2 separate regions of the Homo sapiens genome follow, and region 1 is linked to region 2. Evidence: promoter capture Hi-C in 16 types of primary human blood cells and fetal thymus (Javierre and others, 2016). All regions are on one chromosome and are shown on one strand. Each heading gives the region's core, a stretch centred on a gene start or on the middle of the fragment in contact. The rest is flanking DNA. Distances are from core to core; before and after follow the strand shown.

What was found. The method cuts DNA at HindIII sites, captures the fragments that hold promoters and counts their contacts. A CHiCAGO score of 5 or more calls a contact.
Region 1: a contact is called between a fragment that was not itself captured here and the fragment with the promoter of PA2G4 in region 2, in 2 of 17 cell types (naive CD8 T cells and erythroblasts). The highest score is 6.5, in naive CD8 T cells.

Annotation. Positions count from the first base shown.
Region 1 is chr12:55,793,352-55,800,223 of GRCh38, forward strand. It overlaps SARNP (SAP domain containing ribonucleoprotein), which reads right to left. Exons shown (of 11, transcript NM_033082.4): 5 at 2,674-2,725; 6 at 1,456-1,529; 7 at 1,008-1,036. Among named protein-coding and RNA genes, the nearest start is that of SARNP, 21 kb to the right of the region's middle. RefSeq lists an enhancer at 4,868-5,369. The HindIII fragment of the contact is 2,580 bases long and covers 350-2,929 here.
Region 2 is chr12:56,103,238-56,110,282 of GRCh38, forward strand. It overlaps PA2G4 (proliferation-associated 2G4), which reads left to right and starts at 1,322. Exons shown (of 13, transcript NM_006191.3): 1 at 1,322-1,588; 2 at 3,351-3,479; 3 at 3,753-3,858; 4 at 3,950-4,019; 5 at 4,284-4,376; 6 at 5,993-6,056; 7 at 6,620-6,698. The coding sequence starts at 1,501. ERBB3 (erb-b2 receptor tyrosine kinase 3) reads left to right here. Exons shown (of 28, transcript NM_001982.4): 28 at 1-268. LOC105369782 (a long non-coding RNA gene) reads right to left here and starts at 1,182. Exons shown (of 2, transcript XR_944995.4): 1 at 1,051-1,182; 2 at 577-681. RefSeq lists enhancers at 1,017-1,366, 1,377-1,596. The HindIII fragment of the contact is 2,269 bases long and covers 117-2,385 here.

The sequences.
Region 1 (6,872 bases), core at 390-2,889, 310 kb before region 2:
CAGACAAGCAAAAAGAAATAAATCATTCAAAATTCCACCAACCAGAGATAAGAGTATTAACAATTTAGAATACAGTCGTCCCTCCATTTCCTCAGGGGATTGGATCCAAACCCACCCCTCCAGCTGATACCAAAATCCACCACACTCAAGTCCTGCAGCAGATATAAGCTGCTCCTCCATATCTGCAGGTTTCACATCCCAAGAATACTGTATTTCTGAACCGCATTTGGTTATGGTGAACCCTCAGATACAGACAGCAAACTGTATTTATTGAAAAAAAAAAAAATCCAAGTATAAGTGGACCTGTGCAGTTCAAACCTTGCTGAAGTGTCTACTATGTATCCTTCCAAGCTTTTTTCCTATCTATACATGCACTCTTACATGACTAAAATGGGAACGTACTGTTAATATAATTTTGTAACTTTTTTCATTAATATCTCTGATAAATATCTTTCAATATTATTTCAGCACAGTAGTCTGCTATACCATGGCACACATTTAATAACTAATTCTCTGTTGTACAGTTGGTTGTTTCCAGTTATTGATCACTATAAATAATGCTGTGATAATCCCTGAGGCTAAGTCTTTATGCACATTCAAGACTATTTCCTTATACGTTCCTAGAAGTAAAACTGTTAAGGTAGAAGATATTCTTTTCCCTTTTATCACTTATAATAGCCAGTATAACACTAGATAGTATGCAATAATTTTATGCAGTTGAGACCCCAGAATAAGTAAGCAAAGTACTAGAGAAACTTCTTTGAAGATGTTCAAGAAAAGACAGACAAATGTTGGCACTTCCTATCCTCTCATAACATTCAGTATCTCTCTTAATTGCCCAGGAAGGCCTAAGTATAATTTTACCTAAAGCAGGAGATGAATGTTACAATCTCTTAAAGAGTTTCTACAGCTAGCAAATTTACCTTATTTTGGAGAAATAAAACCTGTTATACCAGAAAAGAAAGAATAAAAAGGTAACTTTCTCAGAAGTATCTCTGTACTCTTACCTTTTGTTGGAACTGAAGAAATCCCAAACCTGAAGAAGGAAAAACAAACTAAATTTTAGGAAGCTGTTCACACTCCTGGTTTGTCTGTCTCCGTGTCAAGTATACATATGACACTTCTTGCTTGTGATCTCAAGCCTTGCAATCATTAGCTAATTCTAACAACCCCATGAAAGAGGTTCAGAAATTAAGCTAAAAGGAAGCCTTATCAGAATTAGTAGTAGTCAGTTCCTGGCTTTAACTGTTACAAAAACCCTTCTCAATAAAGCTCAATTTATAGCTACTATAACCAAATCAGTAGACATGTTCTGAATAGGGTCAAAAAAGTGTTCATATCCTTCAGCAAGCCTCTATTCTACTTAAAATCAACAATTATACCTAAAAGCTAGGATCACACATCTTCATCTTTACAACACCCCTATCAGAGGCCCAAAAGGCTGGGGACACTCACCTAGCTGCCCGAGCAGCTTTCTTACTCTCCAAGCTCACAGGTACATTGAATCGTTCAGCCCTCTTCTGCATTCTCTAAGTAAAAATAGACAAAAGGGAGAAAAAAAAGTCAATTTATGGTTTAAGAAAGTCAGTCAGAGGTAGGTATCTTTAAAAAAAAAAAAAAAAAAAAAAAAAAGAGTCTCACTCTGTCCCCCAGCCTGGAGTGCAGTGGCATGATCTCGGCTCACTGCAACCTCAGCCTCCTGGGTTCGAGCGATTCTCGTGGCTCAGCCTCCTGAGTAGCTGGGATTACAGGACTGTGCCACTGTGCCCAGCTAATTTTTGTGCTTTTAGTAGAAATGAGATTTCACCATGATGGCCAGGCTGATATTGAACTCCTGGCCTCAAGTGAACTGCCCACCTCAGCCTCCTAAACTGCTGGGATTACAAGCGTGAGCCACCTGGCCCAGCCAAAGGTAGGTATCTTAAAAACATCAGAAGTAATTTCTTAGGGTCTAAACTGAAAATACTGACAATCCTAGAAGATATCAGGTTGTGTCCATGCTAGGACTTAACGGCCCTTCCCACAAAGCAAACAAAAAAAGACTATTACTAGATGCCCTCAAAAACAAAAGGGAGAAATAAAGTAAAACCTACATTATGCATGAAGCCAAGAAGTCAAAAGCTATGTTTGGCTGACCTTTGAAAAGTGATCAAAGGAATAGCTTGGTTCCAACACCAATGGTATTCTTTCAGTTAGAAATGAGGCAGCATTGTTTTATGCCATTCTAAAAGAGTTTAATAATTCTCTACTTTGCAAGTATGATACTGAACACAAGATCTCAAATGGAACCTGGTTTCACAGTCCTGCACCACAGAAACCAGAGAAATTTCAATCTCAGCTACTGGCCAGTAGCAACATAAGAGTCACATCTACCAATACATTTTCAAGGTACAATCCTCCTAAATCTAATCCTAGGTTTGAAAACATCTCAAAGAGAGTCACTGTTAAGACCATAATATTACATATAAAAAGACTACAACTTCAAGAATGACTACCCCTACGCCAGCCAAATATTTTCCAAAGAGTAGCTGGCAGTGAAACGTATCAACACCAAAATCTGCCAATACTGATTTTCTGCCTGTGAATAAATTTTAGAGGATGATGCAGATATAATAAAGGGTAAGAGGGAGAGAGAAATGTAGAGACTGTTCTACTAGGGAGCAGAATACCTACCTCAGTCTGTGGTATTTCAGATGTAATTTTCACCACTTTCTTCTCTGCTGCCCTAGAAAAGAAAGAGATTTTTTAAAATGAGAAAACTGATATTCTAAACCACAACCTCAGAAATGTGTAAGAATTCACCTGAGTCACCATTCTCTGCCCTATTATCTCTCTGCCACCCCCTAAGCCAAAGAAACATGAAGTCCACTAGAGCTTTGGTTCCTTTAACTGTCATCTATTGAGAGGAAAGAGTTCAAATAACAAACTAAGCTTCTTTAGCTAAAGTATAATAAAGAAATAAGGAAAGAAGTCTGGTTAAATATACTGGGCTGAAGGGAAACACTCAAAGGACACCAGAAACCATCTCATTTGCTTTTAGGAACTTTTCAATTTACTTTTATTTTTCTGAGACGGAGTTTTGCTCTTGTCGCCCAGGCTGGAGTGCAATGGCACGATCTCAGCTCACTGCAACCTCCACCTCCTGGGTTCAAGAGATTCTCCTGCCTCAACCTCCTGAGTAGCTGGAATTACAGGCACCTGCCACCACGCCGAGCTAATTTTTGTATTTTTAGTAGAGATAGGGTTTCACCATGTTGGCCAGGCTAGTCACGAACTCCTGGCCTCAAGTGATCCACCCACCTCGGCCTCCCAAAGTACTGGGATTACAGGCATCAGCCACCGAGCCCAGCCTTTAATTTACTTTTGAACTAATGAGTAACCCTCCAATCCTCCTTTAAGTACCACCTCCCAATGTTCATCACAACAATTAATAAGTACTCTACAAGGTCTGGTTTCCTTCTTTTAAAAATCCCTTATTTCTCCCATGGGGAATGTAGCTCTAGCTGGAACAGTCAAAGTGAAACAAATAAAAATGCCAAAGAAGGTAGGAAGAAAAAAGTCTAAGGGGAGTTTGAATTAGGAAAACATGGTAAGCTAGTGGTCAAAGGTTTAAGAGGAAACAAAAGAGGGGGGACCACAGGGGCGGGAGACAAAGTTCGGAAGTACCCACGATAAATGGAAGGGCATTAACCCTCCACCAAACAACTCCCATAAAACTGTGGGTCATAACCAGTCTCATTAAGGTCCCTCATTTAGAGACATGGGCAGCTTTTGTTCCAATATCCTGAACACTTTTCCCATTTGATGCCCTGAAAGGTAGTAATGGTTTAATGACATTTTCAGAGGAAGCAATTCTGGAATAAGAACTTACTCTCTTCCACCCTTTTATTGGAAATCCCTGGACTGAAGACAAGCAATGGGTGCCCCCTGCTGACTATAACGAAGTCCTACGATATGTAACCGCTTTAGCTGGTTGGGGGTTGGGAATCAAACTAGAAACAGGTATATTTTTGGAGAACTTCAGGCCAAACATGAAGAAGGGGATCTCCTTTTAAATAGTCAAGGAATCTAAACTAGCCCTGGCTATTCTGACGTTTAAAGAAATTTCTAAACGCTTCCCATTTCCTTGCCATCCTTCCCTAACCTTGTCTTATAATTTAGGCACAAAAGGCTAAAGTTTAATGTTTTACTTGAAATCCAATGCCATCAAGAAAGTAGTACTCTCCATCAACCCCAGTGTAATGACTTCCTCCCCATTACCATTCTGAAGCACAGTCAATGCAGTGCACATCATGGCAGAAAGGGAACCCCAGACGGGAAGTTTCCTTCCATTCTATTACAATTCCCTTAGGCAACTAAACTCAAGCGCAATAAATAAACATCGAATTCTGGGATGCATGGGAAATTTCCACTCTTCACTGAGAAATTTCTCTCCTACCCAATCACATAAACAACATTCCCTGAAATACAGAGACCCAGAATCTTTTTGTACATACTTCAGTCTAACCACAACTATCCTCTAAAAATCAAAAACGATCACCCCACCCACTTCAATTTCCTTGTTTCAAAATTCATTAATAGAATTAAAGCCCCCTGAACAGAATGCACATTTTAAATATTCTATGAATAATGAACTTCAAACTTTCGAACCTCTATTTTTTAACCCACAGAAGCCAATTATCATGGTATTCACTTGATCTTCTTTCTTGTTCCAGAAATCCCCATAACATTTCTATTTTAAAGCTATCTCACAAAGTCATTTTTTCAAGGCACTATATCTAATTATAAACATCTTATGATGGAAAGATAACTAAATGGCTTTAGAAAGTAGTATTTGATAGGCTGGAAAGTAGTATTTGATAGGCAGGTGATTACTGGCTCACACCTGTAATCCCAGCACTTTGGGAGGCCAAGGCAGGTGGATCGCTTTGAGCTCAAGAGTTTGAGACCAGCCTGGCAAACACGGCGAAACCCCATCTCTACAAAAAATACAAAAAAAGAGCTGGGTGTAGTGGCTCGTGCCTGTAGTTCCAGCTACTCAGGAGGCTGAAGCTGGAGGACTGCTTGAGCCGGGAAACGGAGGTTGCAGTGAGCCAAGATTGTGCCACTGCACTCCAGCCTGGACAACGGAGTGAGTCCCTGTCTCAAAAATAAATAAATAAAGGGATATTTGACAAAAATCTATCAAGATGTTAAATGTACATCCTCTGTGATGCAGCAAATCCACTGCTAGGAATTTACCCTGTGGGTATACTTGTGAGTATAAATAATTAGAAAAGGACATGCAGAACTACATTTTTTTTTAATGAATAATCTAAATGTCCATCAACAGAAGACTGGTGAAATAAATTACTGTTTATCCATAGAATGCAATACTATTAAATGCTAGAAAGAACAAGGTTCTAAGTTGATAACTAGTAAATCTGGGTGATAGGTAGATGAGAGTCTATTACACTAGTCGAACTTTTGTATATACTTGTAATTTCCCATAATAAGCTAAACAAAAAGAGACCACTTCCTAGGATAATTATCCTGACTTTACAGGGTCTACTGAGGATAAAATGACAGTACATGTAAAACATTCAGAACAATGCCTAGCATATAACTCTTAAGAACAATGCCTAGCATATAACTAACACTTACATAAGAAAATGATGATATAAAAAATTTCCAGATGTGAAAAAAAATCAAGTGTGCACAGTGTGTGTATACGTGTATCTATATATACACATACATACATATACACATGTACAGACCCCATATATAAAATCTTCCAAAAGTATGTACTGTTCTAAAAACCTCAGTAAAGTCAGATCTGAGAATGGATACAAAGAGTACTTAATTCTTAATTGATATACTCCACTATGTACTGACTTTTTACTTGTAAATACACTGCCTTTTATAATTAAATGCACTAACACAACTATGAGGAACAAAAATGTTCAAAGTTTAGGACTCAACGGCTCTTAATGTACTATAGTACAAAATGGCCAGACATTTGTGGAAAAAGCCCCAAATTAAAGATGTTTAGGATCACCCTTGTGGAACAGTTTAAACAAATCAAGATCTACTTTCCATTCTAGCACTTTGTCCTCCCATCCTCCACTGTAAATCAGAAAGCAAGAGAGAACAGAGTGCTACTTCAGAAACATAACCTCTACCCAACACCCTCCTCCCTTACAAAACTCCTTTATATAGAGTGTCACACTTTTTTTTTTTTTTTTCCCGAGACAGCTGTGGCTCCCAGGCTGGAGTGCAGTGCCACAGTCTCGGCTCACTGCAACCTCCACCTCCCAGGTTCAAGCAATTCTCCTGCCTCAGCCTCCCAAGTAGCTGGAATTACAGGTGCCCTCCACCACGCCCAACTAATTTTTGTATTTTTAGAAGAGACAGGGTTTCACCATCTTGGCCAGGCTGGTCTTGAACTCCTGACCTCGTAATCCACCCACCTCGGCCTCCCAAAGTGCTGGGATTACAAGTGTGTGCCACCGTGCCTGGCCTCAGTTTTACACTTTTCCAGAAAAGTGCAAAACTCTTATGAACAGTTAACAGAATGGGCCGGGCACGGTGGCTCACACCTGTAATCCCAGCACTTTGGGACGCCAAGGCAGACGGATCATTTGAGGTCAGGAGTTCAAAACCAGCCTGGCCAACATGGTAAAACCCTGTCTCTACTAAAAATACAAAAATCAGTCGGGCAGTAGTGGCACACACCTATAATCCCAGCTACTCGGGAGGCTGAGGCAGGAGAATTGCTTGAGCCTGGGAAGCAGAAGTTACGGTGAGCCAAGATCACGCCACTGCACTCCAGTCTGGGCAACAGAGTGAGATCCTGTCTCAAAAAAAAAAAAGTTAACAGAGTTTACACAGTT
Region 2 (7,045 bases), core at 72-2,571:
TTTGTGTAAACCATAATCCACATGTGCCGTAAATGATCTTCACTCCTTATCCGAGGGCAAATTCACAAGGATCCCCAAGATCCACTTTTAGAAGCCATTCTCATCCAGCAGTGAGAAGCTTCCAGGTAGGACAGAAAAAAGATCCAGCTTCAGCTGCACACCTCTGTCCCCTTGGATGGGGAACTAAGGGAAAACGTCTGTTGTATCACTGAAGTTTTTTGTTTTGTTTTTATACGTGTCTGAATAAAAATGCCAAAGTTTTTTTTCAGCTTCCTGTCTGTCAAATGAAGACATTTCGTATGTTAGATAAGAGATCTGCTCCTCAGCAGTGGATACTCACCTTTCTGTGTTCTGACAGTGCTACTCTGTCCCATGCAGCTTTCTCTAGTCCTACTATTACTTCTATTTCTTTAGAACAACCATAGCGCATAGTCCTTTTCATTAAGGGTTTTAGTAGGAATCTACAAGGCAACCAATTGGGAATAACAAAAAGAACCTACGTGCTTTAGGACTTATAAAAAGCCCTATAAGCCCTCCTTCAGAGGCCAAACACTGAAACCTCCAGATGCTTCTGAATTCATTATCTTAGAAAAGTCATCAAATCTTTTTATTTTTTCACGGTAAGAACTCTCAACAAACATGTCTTTCTGAACACTTCCCTTAGGTGCTCCATCCAGGTGCCTGTTATTGGAACAATAAAGTCATGTTACTTCATTAGGAGTCCGGCCTCTAGATTGCGAGGCCTTTAAATGGATGATCCCTCCGGTGTCTGGCTGCCCAGTTAGCCCCCGTTACCAGCACCCTTGGTCTTCTTCCACCTGTCTGCCCCTCCCTGTTCTCCCAGCTTCGGAGGACGACTGGACCGGCTGGGCGGGTTTCGCCAGCCGACCCAGGGATCCGAAGAAGGGCGCACCCAGCCTCCCCGACCTAGGTGTAGACACTGCCCACCCGCTGCGGCTCCACTCTACTCCACCCCTGCCCGCTCGACTTTAAACCTATTTCCCCGCCGTAGCTCCGCCCCTCTCCCCTCAGCCCGCCCCTCTCTGTTACTGGCTCTCGCTCAGCGTTCTCGGTGGAAGTGGTTTTTCCGGGAGAGACCACGCTTCCCCTCAAGCTCCCCAACGGCTCCGCCTTCCCGCCGGAGCCTGACCCTTCCCAGAGTGCCCGGCGATTCCGGCGTGCGAGGCCCTTGGAGGGCAAGGCCCCAGGGCCTGGCTTAGGAGCGCGAGAGGCAGGCTGGGAATTGTAGTTCGAAGGCCCTCGAGAGCGGCTAGAGTCTGGCGGCCGAGAGGACTAGTTGTCCCAGCGTGCCCTGCGCCTCAGCCCGCGCGCTCGCAGCTTCTCGCTCTCGCCTGCCTGCCCGCTCCCTTGCTTGCTCGCGCTTTCGCTCGCCCTCTCCTCGAGGATCGAGGGGACTCTGACCACAGCCTGTGGCTGGGAAGGGAGACAGAGGCGGCGGCGGCTCAGGGGAAACGAGGCTGCAGTGGTGGTAGTAGGAAGATGTCGGGCGAGGACGAGCAACAGGAGCAAACTATCGCTGAGGACCTGGTCGTGACCAAGTATAAGATGGGGGGCGACATCGCCAACAGTGAGTGCGGCCTCGGGGGTCGGGGAATCAAGGCTGATAGGGAAAGGTAACAGGCTGGCCCGGAAGGGGCTGGAGCGGAGGGGTCATGCGGACTGAGCTACTGAGGGGCCCGCACCGGTCCGCTGGGCACGGCGTGGTGGGAAGACCCGGTGTCGCGCCTGGGACCTGAGCGGGCAGGCCCAGGCTGAAGTCTATGGAGGTGCGGGTCGGCGACCAGGATGAGCGCAGAGAGGGGACCCTGGCAGGCTCCGACCCGAGGCCGTTTGTTAGGAGGCAAGACGTGTTTTCTCTTGTTCCTATCCTTCATTCCCGATTATTGCTTCCTCTGATTCTGGCAGCGGCGAGGCCACCTCGAAAAGGAAGCGCCCAGCTATTGGCGACAGAAGTGCCCCTCTGTTTTTGTAGCGTCTCCGGGGCGTCAGGAGCCAAGCCGGCACGTGTTGCTGGGTCCCATTGCGGATGGCTGGCCCCCTTCTTACTCCGCTAGTGTCCCTGACACCAGCTTCCCCACCACCAGCTTCCCCACCACGTGCTTTGCTGGAGCCTTTCCTTCTTTACTTCAGCTCTTACCCTGGTGGGGGCCCCCTTCTACCTTGGGCCAGCTAAGGAGACCGTTGGAGAGCACTCCTGGAGCTTCTAATGCAAGTCTTGGAGATATATATGGCTTTTCTTGAAGTTACTCATTACTACCACCTTTCCAATCTGTGCAGATAGTCTTAGTTAGCATTCACATTTGTTGTTCTCAGTGACTTGACAACTCAAATGTTTTGGGGTCTCCGTCTTATCCCAACTAGGCAAGCTTGTGAACATTACTGGAAAAGGGAGGACTGATTTTAGGATTTTCACAAGTCATCCTTACTCCAGGTGTGCTCTGACGATCTCAGCAGTTGCCTGTCACTCTAGGCAGATGCCACTTTCTCTTTTCTCTCTTTCCAGTTAGCCTTTCCATTTTATTCCAGTTAGGGAGATACAAACTGCTTGTCATTGTGCTTTTAAATGGTTTTAACAGCAAAGATGGTGGGGAACAGGTATTTAGGATGCCTCCCGTCCTGTGGGTGAAAATCTGAGTTTTACCAGCTTTCAAAGAATCACCAAAACTGAGATACCAAAAGTCAAACCTGTGCTTTATATCACAGTGGACATTTAGTATCGTACCCTGGTTTTTGGTGCCTTTTAGTATTTGAGATACTAGTGGTTTGAATCAGAAAATCTCTTACAGTTTATAACTTTGGCCTCATATTTCTTTTAGATAAGCCATGATCCCCCGAAATGAAACCCAGGGACCTTAGATTAAGTTTCCTTGGCTTATGCACTTGTTTATGAGGAAATAAGTCTATATAGATTGAGATTCCTAACACCTAATTAGAGTGTCTGAGAAAGGAATGCGGTAACATTTAACAGTGCATCGGCTTCGAGTCAGCAATTCTGTCTACCTTCTTGTCCCTGATGCCTATAAATTTCATCTAGTCTTTGCGTGTATGTGGGGATACCATGGCAAGAACCCTCTGAAGTTCATAACTCTGTCCTGTCACACCAAAGGTAGCATCTTTGGAAAGTCTGAGGCCTTGCCTAGGGAGATGGATTGTATATACCCAGTTGTCACATAATGTAAGGAAGAGAAGGGAATGTTGACCTTTCAGCCTCAGGGCAATGGCACCAGGGAGTATTATGGAAACTCTTAAATTCAACTTCCAGGTATTCCTTGGGTGGTAACTAGACAATGAATACATACAAGGCTGACATGATGGGATTCTGTCCTCAGGGGTACTTCGGTCCTTGGTGGAAGCATCTAGCTCAGGTGTGTCGGTACTGAGCCTGTGTGAGAAAGGTGATGCCATGATTATGGAAGAAACAGGGAAAATCTTCAAGAAAGAAAAGGAAATGAAGAAAGGTAAAAAAAAAAAATCCCTCACTAATTTTCCGTTTGACCCTTATTTGGTCCTATATGTTTTTATTTTTTTCACTGTAATGACGCAGTCCCCACCCCAGCTCTGGCTGAGGTATTTGGAAATTTGGAATGGCAAGTGGGATACAAGCAGTTTCCTACCTAATCCAAACTGATGAAACTTAAGCAAGACCCTGAAAAAATCCTTCTACATTTCTGAAGGGCACTAGGGCTCCCGGGAGACAGCAAGGCAGTAGGCTGATGATTCTTTCTTTACAGGTATTGCTTTTCCCACCAGCATTTCGGTAAATAACTGTGTATGTCACTTCTCCCCTTTGAAGAGCGACCAGGATTATATTCTCAAGGAAGGTGACTTGGTAAAAATGTAAGGTTAAACCGTTTTAAAGCATTTTTCTTTTTTTAAAGCATTTACAAAATGCCAGTTCCTAATGCAGTACTCTGATCTTGCCTTTCAGTGACCTTGGGGTCCATGTGGATGGCTTCATCGCTAATGTAGCTCACACTTTTGTGGTTGATGTAGCTCAGGTAGGTGGCCTGCTTTTGATCTCTGTTTAGCCTTGGGGTAGAGGGAATGCACTGCCATTTGCTTCTTATCCCCACCCCCAATCACCACGTAAGTTGAGAGAGTCTCTAGAGAAGCAAAAGGAGAAAGGTTTTTGTTGTTGTTGTTGTTTTTACCCTCCTGTTCATTGGCTGGTCTTCGCATATGGGCTCACAGATATTAACCAGATAGCCAGCTGAGTTAACAGACTTTCCAGGAAGATACTGATTGCATGTCCTTATCTACAGGGGACCCAAGTAACAGGGAGGAAAGCAGATGTTATTAAGGCAGCTCACCTTTGTGCTGAAGCTGCCCTACGCCTGGTCAAACCTGGAAATCAGGTAAGCTATTTTATCCAATTCCAAAGCTCGTTTGAACCAAAGATGCATTAGGCACCTATAGCTACTCTATATGAAACTACCAACCTCCCCTACAGACCCCTTATAAAACAGCTTTTTAAAATTAGCTATATTTAGCTGGGCACAGTGACTCACATCTGTAATCCCATCACTTTGGGGGGCCAAGGTAGGAGGATAGCTTGAGGCTGGGAGTTCAAGACCAGCCTGGGAAACATGGTGAAACCCCATTTCTACAAAAAATACAAAAATTAGCTGGGCGTGGTAACATGTGCCTGTATTCCCAGCTTCCAGGGAGGCTGAGGTGGGAGAATCACCTGAGCCTGGGAGATTGAGGCTGTGCTGAGCTATGATCATGCCACTGCACTCCAGCCTGGGCAACAATGAAACCCTGTCTCACAAAAGAAAAAGGAAAAATAAGCATTTGCTGTCCCCACAAAACAGATTAGAATGCCAGGTAAAAAAGGATAAACACTGGACTTAATATTATAGGCATGTGGTGGCACATGCCTGTAATCCCAGCACTTTGGGAGGCCAAGGTGGGAGGATTGCTTGAACCCAGGCATTTGAGACCAGCTTGGGAAACATAGCGAGACCCGTCTACAAAAAGAAAAAAGAAAACCCAGGTTTATGACCAAGTTCTTTCACTTAACACTCATTTAACCTGGGGCAAATCATTTAACCTGAGACTCAGTTTCCTTGTCTTCTAGATTGGGATATACATCTGCCCTGTTCACATGCAAAATTTATTGAGTTAGACCATCTTTGTGAAAGCACTGGGTAAAATGATATGCAGTTACAGCTGGTCCTCAGCTTGATGCTACATTCAGTAGAAGCTATACTTTGAGTACCCATACAACCATTCTGTTTTTCATTTTCCATATAGTATTTAGTAAATTACATGAGATATTCAACACTAATATAAAATAGGCATGTGTTAGATAATTCTGCCCAACTGTAGGATAATGTTTTTTAAGTGCTCTGAGCACATTTAACATAGGCTAGGCTGTGATGTTAGGTAGGTTAGGGGTATTAAATGCATTTTTGACTTAGTGATATTTTCAACTTATGAGTTTTTTGGAGATGTAACCCCATTGCAAGTTGGGGAGCATCTGTATAAAGTATTTTTAGATTGTAGGGATAATCAAGCTATGAAATGAAAAACCAGTGAATGACAATCATTGGGGCTTGATGGAGGATATTAGAACGCTCAGTTCTGCCAGGTGCAATGGCTCATGCCTGTAATCCCAGCACTTTGGGAGGCTGAGGTGGGCAGATCACGAGGTCAGGAGATCGAGACCATCCTGGCCAACATGGTGAAACCCCGTCTCTTCTAAAAATACAAAAATTAGCTGGGCGTGGTGTTGCGTGCCTGTAATCCCAGCTACTCAGGAGGCTGAGGCAGGAGAATAGCTTGAACCCGGGAGGCAGAGATTGCAGTGAGCCAAGATCACGCCACTGCACTCCAGCCTGGTGACAAAGCCAGACTCCATCTCAAAAAAAAAAAAAAAAACGCTCAGTTCTTTTATGCTTCTTATTCTCATTGTAGAGAACTTATTAGCTCCTGATATCTCACCTTTCATTTGATGTTGTACTTCTAGAACACACAAGTGACAGAAGCCTGGAACAAAGTTGCCCACTCATTTAACTGCACGCCAATAGAAGGTGAGAACAGATAACAGGGTTGAGGGTCTAAGAATGAGTGGCTTTGCCAGGTGCGGTGGCTCACGCCTGTAATCCCAGAACTTTGGGAGGCTGAGGTGGGCGGATCACCTGAGGTCAGGAGTTTGAGACTAGCCTGGCCAACATGGTGAAACCCCGTCTCTACTAAAAATATAAAAATTAGCTGGGCGTGGTGGTGGGTGCCTGTAATCCCAGCTACTTGGGAGGCTAAGGCGAGATAATCGCTTGAACCCGGGAGGAGGAGGTTGCAGTGAGCCAAGATTGCGCCACTGCACTCCAGTCTGGGCAATAAGAGCGAAACTCCATCTCCTCCATCTCAAAAAAAAAAAAAAAAAGAATGAGTGGCTTTGCAGAATTGAGGCTTTTGCTCCCTTGAAGATCTATCCTGGCTATAACCCAGTCTAAGCCAGAAATCTCAGAGCCCTGTGTTTCCATAACCAGGTAGTTGTCTCACTGCCTACCACTTCAAACTACTGAAGTGGGTGGATTTGGAAACCTTTTGGGATACTGGATAGCTTGTTCCATAGGTTGTGTACTATCTACAGGTATGCTGTCACACCAGTTGAAGCAGCATGTCATCGATGGAGAAAAAACCATTATCCAGAATCCCACAGACCAGCAGAAGTAGGTGCCAACCCTACTTATTACCTTCTACCACACAAGACTAGTCATCAGGTTTTTTTCTATACTCCCAACTGAATCTTGTCCGCCCTCTACTCCATGTTTTCAGGAGTGACCTGTTGCTCTTAATATTCCCTTTCTCTAGGCCGGGCGCGGTGGCTCACGCCTGTAATCCCAGCACTTTGGGAGGCTGAGGCGGGTGGATCACCTGAGGTCACGAGTTCAGAACCAGCCTAACCAACATGGCGAAACCCTGTCTCTACTAAAAACTACAAAAATGAGCCAGGCCTGGTGGTTTGTGCCTATAGTCCCAGCTACTTGGGAGGCTGAGGCAGGAGAGTTGCTTGGAC